Regions from separate parts of the Homo sapiens genome. Here region 2 is linked to region 1. Evidence: promoter capture Hi-C in 16 types of primary human blood cells and fetal thymus (Javierre and others, 2016). All regions are on one chromosome and are shown on one strand. The core of a region is centred on a gene start or on the middle of the fragment in contact, and the rest is flanking DNA. Distances in the headings are between cores, read along the strand shown. Region 1 holds the start of PRDM15 (PR/SET domain 15). Region 2 overlaps UMODL1 (uromodulin like 1).

Evidence for each region. The method cuts DNA at HindIII sites, captures the fragments that hold promoters and counts their contacts. A CHiCAGO score of 5 or more calls a contact.
Region 2: a contact is called between a fragment that was not itself captured here and the fragment with the promoter of PRDM15 in region 1, in 1 of 17 cell types (naive B cells). The highest score is 6.0, in naive B cells.

What each region holds. Positions count from the first base shown.
Region 1 is chr21:41,877,479-41,881,307 of GRCh38, reverse strand. PRDM15 (PR/SET domain 15) reads left to right here and starts at 1,964. Exons shown (of 24, transcript NM_001040424.3): 1 at 1,964-2,038. RefSeq lists a silencer at 1,841-1,890 and enhancers at 2,041-2,090, 3,091-3,140. The HindIII fragment of the contact is 16,753 bases long and covers 1-3,829 here.
Region 2 is chr21:42,084,086-42,087,914 of GRCh38, reverse strand. It overlaps UMODL1 (uromodulin like 1), which reads right to left. Exons shown (of 23, transcript NM_001004416.3): 3 at 3,670-3,829; 4 at 2,503-2,624. Among named protein-coding and RNA genes, the nearest start is that of UMODL1, 15 kb to the right of the region's middle. The HindIII fragment of the contact is 1,006 bases long and covers 1,213-2,218 here.

The DNA of each region.
Region 1 (3,829 bases), core at 715-3,214:
ACGAGATATGACGATTATTGTGTAAGTGAATTCCAGCCGTGGGCTGTATGTAGTAATAGGAGAAATGGCCTGGGGGAGGTTGAAGTCTTTGGTTTACTTTCAGTTATTCGCACTTGCTGTGGACCTGTCACTTTTTTAGTGTAAACAACCTTTTATTCACATATGCCGAGGACTGTTTCATGTCCTGAGGCCCACAGAACCAGTCATCTGGCCATTTTGGAACTGTGAGTGATGTCACTGGAGGTGCGTGTATAGAGGGAATGTCCATTAGCTGTAGTGGTGGTGGTGGGAGTGGGGTTGGGCGGAGACCTGAATACAGAGAAGGTTGTGGAAAACCTGGGAAGTGTTTGAAGATAGAGTACAGAAGGCCTTGGGAACAGGCTTCAGGGACAGGAGGCTGGAGGGAGGCATGAAGTCGCAGGTGGGGACAAGCAGGGAGACAGTGGACGCCGGGGATGCTCCAGAAAGGTCTGGGGGGCCATGGGATGGCCTACTATAGTGCAACATGGAAGCCACTGTAGAATGCTGGGCCAGGCAGAGAAACCAGCCTTCACAGATCAACACTTGCCTAATCTGTCTCCGGCTGCCCGGCGTTGCAGCCTATGGATGTGCCCAGGTGCATCCAACACTTCCCATGGGATGGCACGTAGTATGTAAGCAAATGTGATGATCACATATGCCATTCATACAAGCGAGTCCGTCTCTGGCACCATTCCTGCATGTGGGTCAAAGGCTATGTGCATTTAGAATTTTTATGGATATCCACAAATATCTGAATGGAAACTACGCTAATTTATTCTCCTACCCGTAAAGGAGCTTGTTTCTCTAGTTTCTTCAAAATTATGCTATTAAAACTTTTTTTTGTTTGTTTTTGTTTGAGACAGGGTCTCACTCTGTTGCCCAGGCTGGAGTGCAGTGACACGATCACAGCTCACTGCAGCCTCAAACTGTGGGACTCAAGTGACCCTCCTGCCTCAGCCTCCTGAGTAGCTGAGACTACGGGCACGTGCCACCGAGCCCAGCTAAGTTTTTTAGAGACAAGGTCTGGCTATGTTGCCCAGGTTGTATTAAACGTTTTAAAAAATCTTTGCTAATCTAATAAAAATGATCCCACTGCGACTTTTTTTCTCTTATTGCAGCGTAGTTGAATAGCTTCTCATATGCTTAAGAACCATTGAATTTCCTACGAACTGTCCATCCACACACTTTGCTCATTTTTCTATATACATATATATTTTTATTGGTTCACAAGAGTTTCACGTACATGAGGGAAACGAGCCCTTTTGTGGCATCAATTTAAAATCATTTTCCCCGGTTCATCACTTCTCTTTATGAATGTAGGTTTTTGCCAGGCAGCAATGAACAAGACAGTCGGCCTCTCTGAATATGGGCGGCCAGGACTAAGGTGAAAAGTCTGTCCCTTCTCCGTCTCACGTTTTGTGATGGCACACACACTTGGTGGAGGGGGTCAAGAGAGGCCACACAGGCCCCCGGGGAAGAATGGAGAGCCAGGTCCGCGGCTGGCCCGGTGCTCACCGGTAGCGTGGCGGAGCCCGCCAGGCCAGACTCCCCTCGCGGGCACAGAGCTCGTGTCCCAGGGCCCCGCCGGCCAAATCCAGAGGTCACCGTGAGTGGGGGCAAGTCCCAGGCCTGTTCTAGAGAAAAACTCGACCCACCCACCGCCACCACTCCCCAACTCCGCAAGAAACGCGTCCGAGGAGAGGTGGAGAGGGAGCTGCCCGCGCGCGTGGGCGGCAGGGCCGTGCCACGTGGGAGGGGGGCCGCGCGCGGAATTCCCTCCGGCCAGACCCGCCCCGCGCGCGCCCGCTGCCCCGTCCACGCCGCCCGCGCCCCGCAGTCCCACCCGCAGGACCCCCGGCCGCGCCAGGGTCTCGCCTGCGCCCCCCGCGCCCGCCCGCGGACTACAAGTCCCGCCATGCCCCGCCGCCGCCCCCCGGCTTCCGGTGCTGCGCAGTTTCCGGAGCGGATCGCAACCCGGAGTCCGGATCCGATCCCGCTCTGCACATTCCAAAGGCAGGTAAAGCTCCGGGCCCTGCGCCCGCCGCCCGCCCCGGCGTGCGCCCCGCCGGCCCCGGGCCGCACCCGCTGCCCCCGCGAGCCCCGGCGCGCCCTGGGCCCGCTGCCCCCCGCCCCCCGCGCCCGGCAGCCGCGCGCCGCCCCGGTCCAGCCGCCATGCCGACTGTTCTTTGTTACATTCGCCGGCTGCGGGCACCGTTGGCGATCGGAGTCAAAACCCGGCTGGATTTCCCGGAGCCGCTCCGGGATCGCCCTGCGCGCCGCCCGCCCGCCGGGTCCCGCCGCCGCGGGCGCTCCTGGCCGGGCTCCGCGCCCCCGTCCCCTGCCTCGCGCCCCCCGCCCGCCCGCGGCCAGGCCCAGCGCGGGGCCGCGGGGCTGCCGGGCCGCGCTCGCCCGTGGGCGCGGCGCAGGGTCTTCGCCGCCCCGGCCCGCGGCCCCGCGGCCCCCGCCGCCGGGCGGCGTCGTCGCCGAGGCCCCAGGGGATGTCGTTATCCCCCGCCCTCGGGTACAGCCCATGCGGGTCGCACGGGGGGGTCCCTGGACCCCCAACCCCGCGTTTAGAGAAGCTGAGTCCTGGTGATGGGGTCTCCCAGACCCCCTGCGCCTTATTTTCGTAAGCCTTTTGGTGGCAGAGAGAAGGTAGCGAGGTGGATGGACAGGTGACGCGTGCCTACCCGGGGTGGGTGGCCGTTCGGGGACGGGGCGTGCCCGGCCGCTCAGGTGAGGCCCGCCTCGCGTGGACAGGTGGGGACGGGGGCCACGCGCAGCGTCCTGCTAGAGGGGAGGTGTTCACGCAGGGGTTAGCCTTGAGAAAATAGAAATGAAAACTCATGGAAATAAACACTCCTATCTGGTGGTTAGAGTTATCACCCATTTACCTTTCTTAACCCCCTAATGTAGTGGATGGTTTTTTCCCCCACAAATGCTCAGAAATTGCCCCTCACCCCCAAGTCCCCAAAGGGAGTTTAAAACGGTAGAAACAAGTGTGTGATCAGAGACACGTGGACCTGTGTGTGTATTTAAAGCTACCAACACTCGTTTTAAAAAAACCACATTGGCTTAAGCCAGACTCAAGTGAATTTGGAGAACCTAGCTTGGTTCCTGAAGGGTGGTGACATGTGAAGGAGCCACTGGCTTTGTGATGTACCTTAAAAGGTAGCAGTGACAGTTCTCCTTGGAGAATGCAATGATGTCAACACTCGATAAGGGTGGTGATCCCACCCCGGTGCACACACCACTACCGTATTTTGTTTCAAGCTCGGACATTTTCACGTGTTCCACGTTTTCACTGCTTCACTCCTTCCCCAGATTTCCTGACATCGCTGCCTCACGGTGAACGATTAAGAAATAGTAGCTCTATAATTTAGACTTTCAAGAGCAAAAACACCATTTTTTTTATAGTTTGTTTTTCTTCTATCTGTGATTCATACTTTTTGCCGCAAAGTAGCCAGCAAAGAACAAGCTAAATGTTCCATTTTGGAAGCAGGCGGGACGGTTATTTCTCCAGAAGACAAATAAATAAATTTAAAAATCAACTGTAGTTGGAAGGCTGCTAGCTTGTCTTAGAATAATTATATTTGACAAAGAACTCTTTTCACTTAGGATGTGGCTCTCATATCATTTTCGATGTCATTATCTGTACAGAAGGCCAGGAAAGAACAGTCCTGCCATTTTGCAGATTGAAGGGAGATTTAAGGCAACTGTGTCTTCCACCCGTGCGCTCAAGAGGTTGGGATGGTGAGCGGTGACTTAAATGATTTTTCAGACTCCGTTCCTCATTTGCAAAGTGTGG
Region 2 (3,829 bases), core at 466-2,965, 210 kb before region 1:
ACAGACATGAATGGGGGAAGACAGTGTGAAGAGACAGAGAAGACAGCCGTCTGCAGGCCAAGGAGAGAGGCCTGGGGGCCTCAGGAGGAACCAGCCCTGCCGACACCTTGATTTCAGACTCTTCAGCCCCCAGAACTGTGACAGAATAAGTTTCTGTTGTTTGAAGCCCCCAGTCTGTGGTCCTTGGTTACAGTGGCCCCAGGACACTAATACAGCAGCCAGACCCAGGACCCTCGGTCTTCTGCCCTTGCCAAGACTGCAGGTCTCTTGCAGCTGACAACAGAGAATTAGAACTAGAATTAGACAATTAGAGATCAAAAGCCACGGTCTCCTGTTGTACACATCCAATTATTTTTCTGAGGTTTAATGATCACTTTCCTCATTTCATATGCAGTATTTTTATTTCAGCTTAATATCTTGAAATCTCAACCCTTGGGAAGCCAGGTGAACTGGCAGCTGCACAGCCAGACCAGTGGTCACCAGAACAAACTTTGCCAGCAAACCCCCAAGCCTCCACTGGGAACTCCAAAGGAGGTTTGGGGAGAGCAGGAGTCCTCCGATACACACTTGAAGCCCCTTCCTGGGAGGAGATGCAGCTCATAATTTAGCATACAGAACTGGGAACCAGCCCCGACCTCATCGGAACCCCTTATTCAGCAGCAGAAGCAGGCCTCAGAGACCAGCCCCTGCTGGTGCCTGACCCCTGTGCAAGGCAGGCGCTTCTGCAGGGGGTAATGGGCTGGTTGGAGACATGAAACCTACATGCACGAGGAGACAGCAGGTGTCACGCAGCAATATTGAAAACACAACAACCACAACATCTCAGGCCCCACACGCATCAGGAAGCTCAGGAACCATCTCAAGCTCTTTACATGTATGATTTAAGCTCATGGCCCTGTCTCAGGCAGGGTTATGATTATTTCTATTTATTTACTTTTTATTTATTTAGAGACAAGAGTCTCGCTCTGTAGCCCAGGCTGGAGTGCAGTGGCACGATCTCAGCTCACTGCAACCTCCGCCTCCTGAGTTCAAGCAATTCTCCTGCCTCAGCCTCCCCAGTAGCTGGGATTACAGGCACGTGCCACCACGCCTGGCTAATTACTGGATTTCTAGTAGAGACAGGGTTTCGCCATGTTGGCCAGGCTGGTCTTTAACTCCTGACCTCAAGTGATCCGCCTGCCTCGGCCTCCCAAAGTGCTGGGATTACAAGCTTGAGCCACCACTCCTGGCCGATTATTTATGTTTAATGGAGGAGGTATCTCAGGCACAGAGAGGTTAAGTGACTTACCCAAGGTCACACAGCTGATGAGTGGCAACACTAGGGCCAGGCAGTGTGGCTTCAGAGCTAGTTTCTTACTGGCCAATTGGGCAGTCCCCTTAACAAGCTAAGAGGAAACAGGAATCACTCCTAGCCCGGGCTGTTAAGGCCGAGGCTGCAGACTACCTGTCTAGCAGCTCACTGGCCAGCAGCCCAGAACAACATGAGGTGTGCACCATCTGATCTGGGCTGCCAGCCAGCTTAGTCTAACGGCCAAGGAGTGACCCAACCCTGGGTTTGACACCAAGACACCCAGGGACATATGGGACACACAAAAGATCTGAAGCACAGAACAGCTACACAGATGCCAAAGGAAAATGCGGGGCCCCTTGTCTGAAAAGTGTTCGGCATTTCCAGAGGCAACAGCAGCACATTAGACCAAGCTGAGGCCCCTCTGAGCACAAGCCCCTGTCAGCAGCCGGTCCTGAAGCCAGACCATCCCCCAGGGAGGGCGGCCTTGGGGACACGCGGCAGCCTTGGGGACACGCAGCGCCCTGTCCACACTGGGATTCCCGAGACTGATGGTGGCCTGAGCTGGAGAAGACATCCTGGTTGGTAATCACTGCTGATGGGCCAGAAAGCATGACCTGTGTCATCAGCAAGGGTCAGCCAGGGTGTTTGTTTTTATCCCCAGGGGACAGTGGGCGACGTCTGGAGACAGTTTTGGATGCCACCCTGGGGTGTGCTTCTGACTTGTGTGGAGAGGCCAGGGGCGCTGCTAACCATCAGACCCCAGGGTGCTCTCCAGCCCTGGGCTACGGTTCCCATCTCAGCACTCCCAGGTTGGTGCTGGCTTCCACGAAGCAGGAGCCAGAACTTGAAGAAATTGGGACTGAGGGTGGTGAGGGAAGAGCTCGGGGCTTAGGCTGTCTTTGCTGGGACTGCAGACCCCTGCAAGCTTAGGGATCCGCGTTCTCCACCACGACAGGCGGGCCTATGAGGGTACACACATAACAACTCAGCCAACTACACGCTTCAGTTGTGTGCATTTTGTTGCATGTAAATCATACCTCTTTGAAGCTGATTTTTTAAGAACTAGAATTTCGTTCAGAGTCAGTCATTTGGGGCCATTTGGGGAACATCACCCTCCCCAACCCCCAGGTCCCTTCCACGGCCCCATACCTGGGTCTGCCTGAGCAGCTGCCACAAGGAGGGTGCAGGCAGCCCCCGTCTGTCTCACCTACCAAGGAATGCAGAAGGCGCATGTGGTTCAGGAGCCTGGGGTCCACTTGCTGGAGTTCCTTGAAGTCCATTTTCACCAGTATGGTGACGTTGTACCAGGAGCCCACAGGGTCCCTCTCTGGAGCTACACAAGGGAAAACACTGATGATTATGGACCCAGGACAGGTTGAAGTCACAAAAGCTGCTGGGGTGGGAGAGGGGGCAGGAGAGGGAACCAGAGGCCATGAGAGGCCCTGCTCTGCATTTACCTCCCTGCAAAAAGACATCTACCACAGGAGACGGGGGATGTCCTCACTGCCCGCCCCTCGCTCCTCTCCATCCTAATGTCCCTGAAGACCACCGATCCCTGCTCAGAGGTGAGCTGGGCCTGGGACCCACAGCAGCAGGCCTTCCCTTGAAGAGATCTGCTTAGGAGGTAAATAGAGCCTATCAGCCTCATTATACTGTCATAGTATGTTGATATAGAAAATTACTTTATACTTTGTCATTATTTTATTGATACTACAAATATTGGATAGTATAATCATATGTAATATGATATATACTATATAATAGCATGTAGTATAATGATATAGTATTATCATAATATCTGATATTATGTATACTATTGCTTTATTACTGCATACCATACTAACGCTATAATATATAATATTTTAAATATTAAATAATATGTAACATTATACATATATATATATGTATAGGCCATCCCATTCTCCCATTCTCCTGGATGCAGACCCCAATCAAAAGAGAACTTTCCAGACCAGCAGGCGCATATCTGAGGTGGCAGGGCCTGCCTACGGGTGCTGTGGCGCTCGTCAGGCCCCTGTGGCACTGCAGGCACAGCCAGCTCCACACCTGCAACTAATCTACCTGGAGCTCCTGGCCTCTCCAGGCAAACTGGGAAATCCGGGTCTCTGCTCCACCAGAAGTGTCTTCCCATTTCAGGGCCCCTAAGAGCGCCATGAGATTTCTCCCCCGAGAGTTCAGTGGCCAGATTTTGACTAAGAAATTATCTAAGAGCAGGTGCTGCCTGTGCACACGGTGGGGGCTCCTGATGAAATCGGTCACTGCTCCTAGAAACACACTCCCCCCCACACCTTCACACAGATCAGGCCTCACCGAGACCCGCCTTTGCTGCCTGTCCATAAGCATGGCCCGCAGCAGCCTACCTTGGGGTGCAGGGGCCATGCAGTAGCGCCCCCCTGACCAGGGGCAGCACTTCTCAAGTCCAGGACAGTCGATGTCCAAGCTGCAGGGGGAGGTGGATGGTTCAGGCCCCTCTGCGGGGCAGGCCCCAGGTCTTGACGTGAACTGCCCGGACTGATTCAG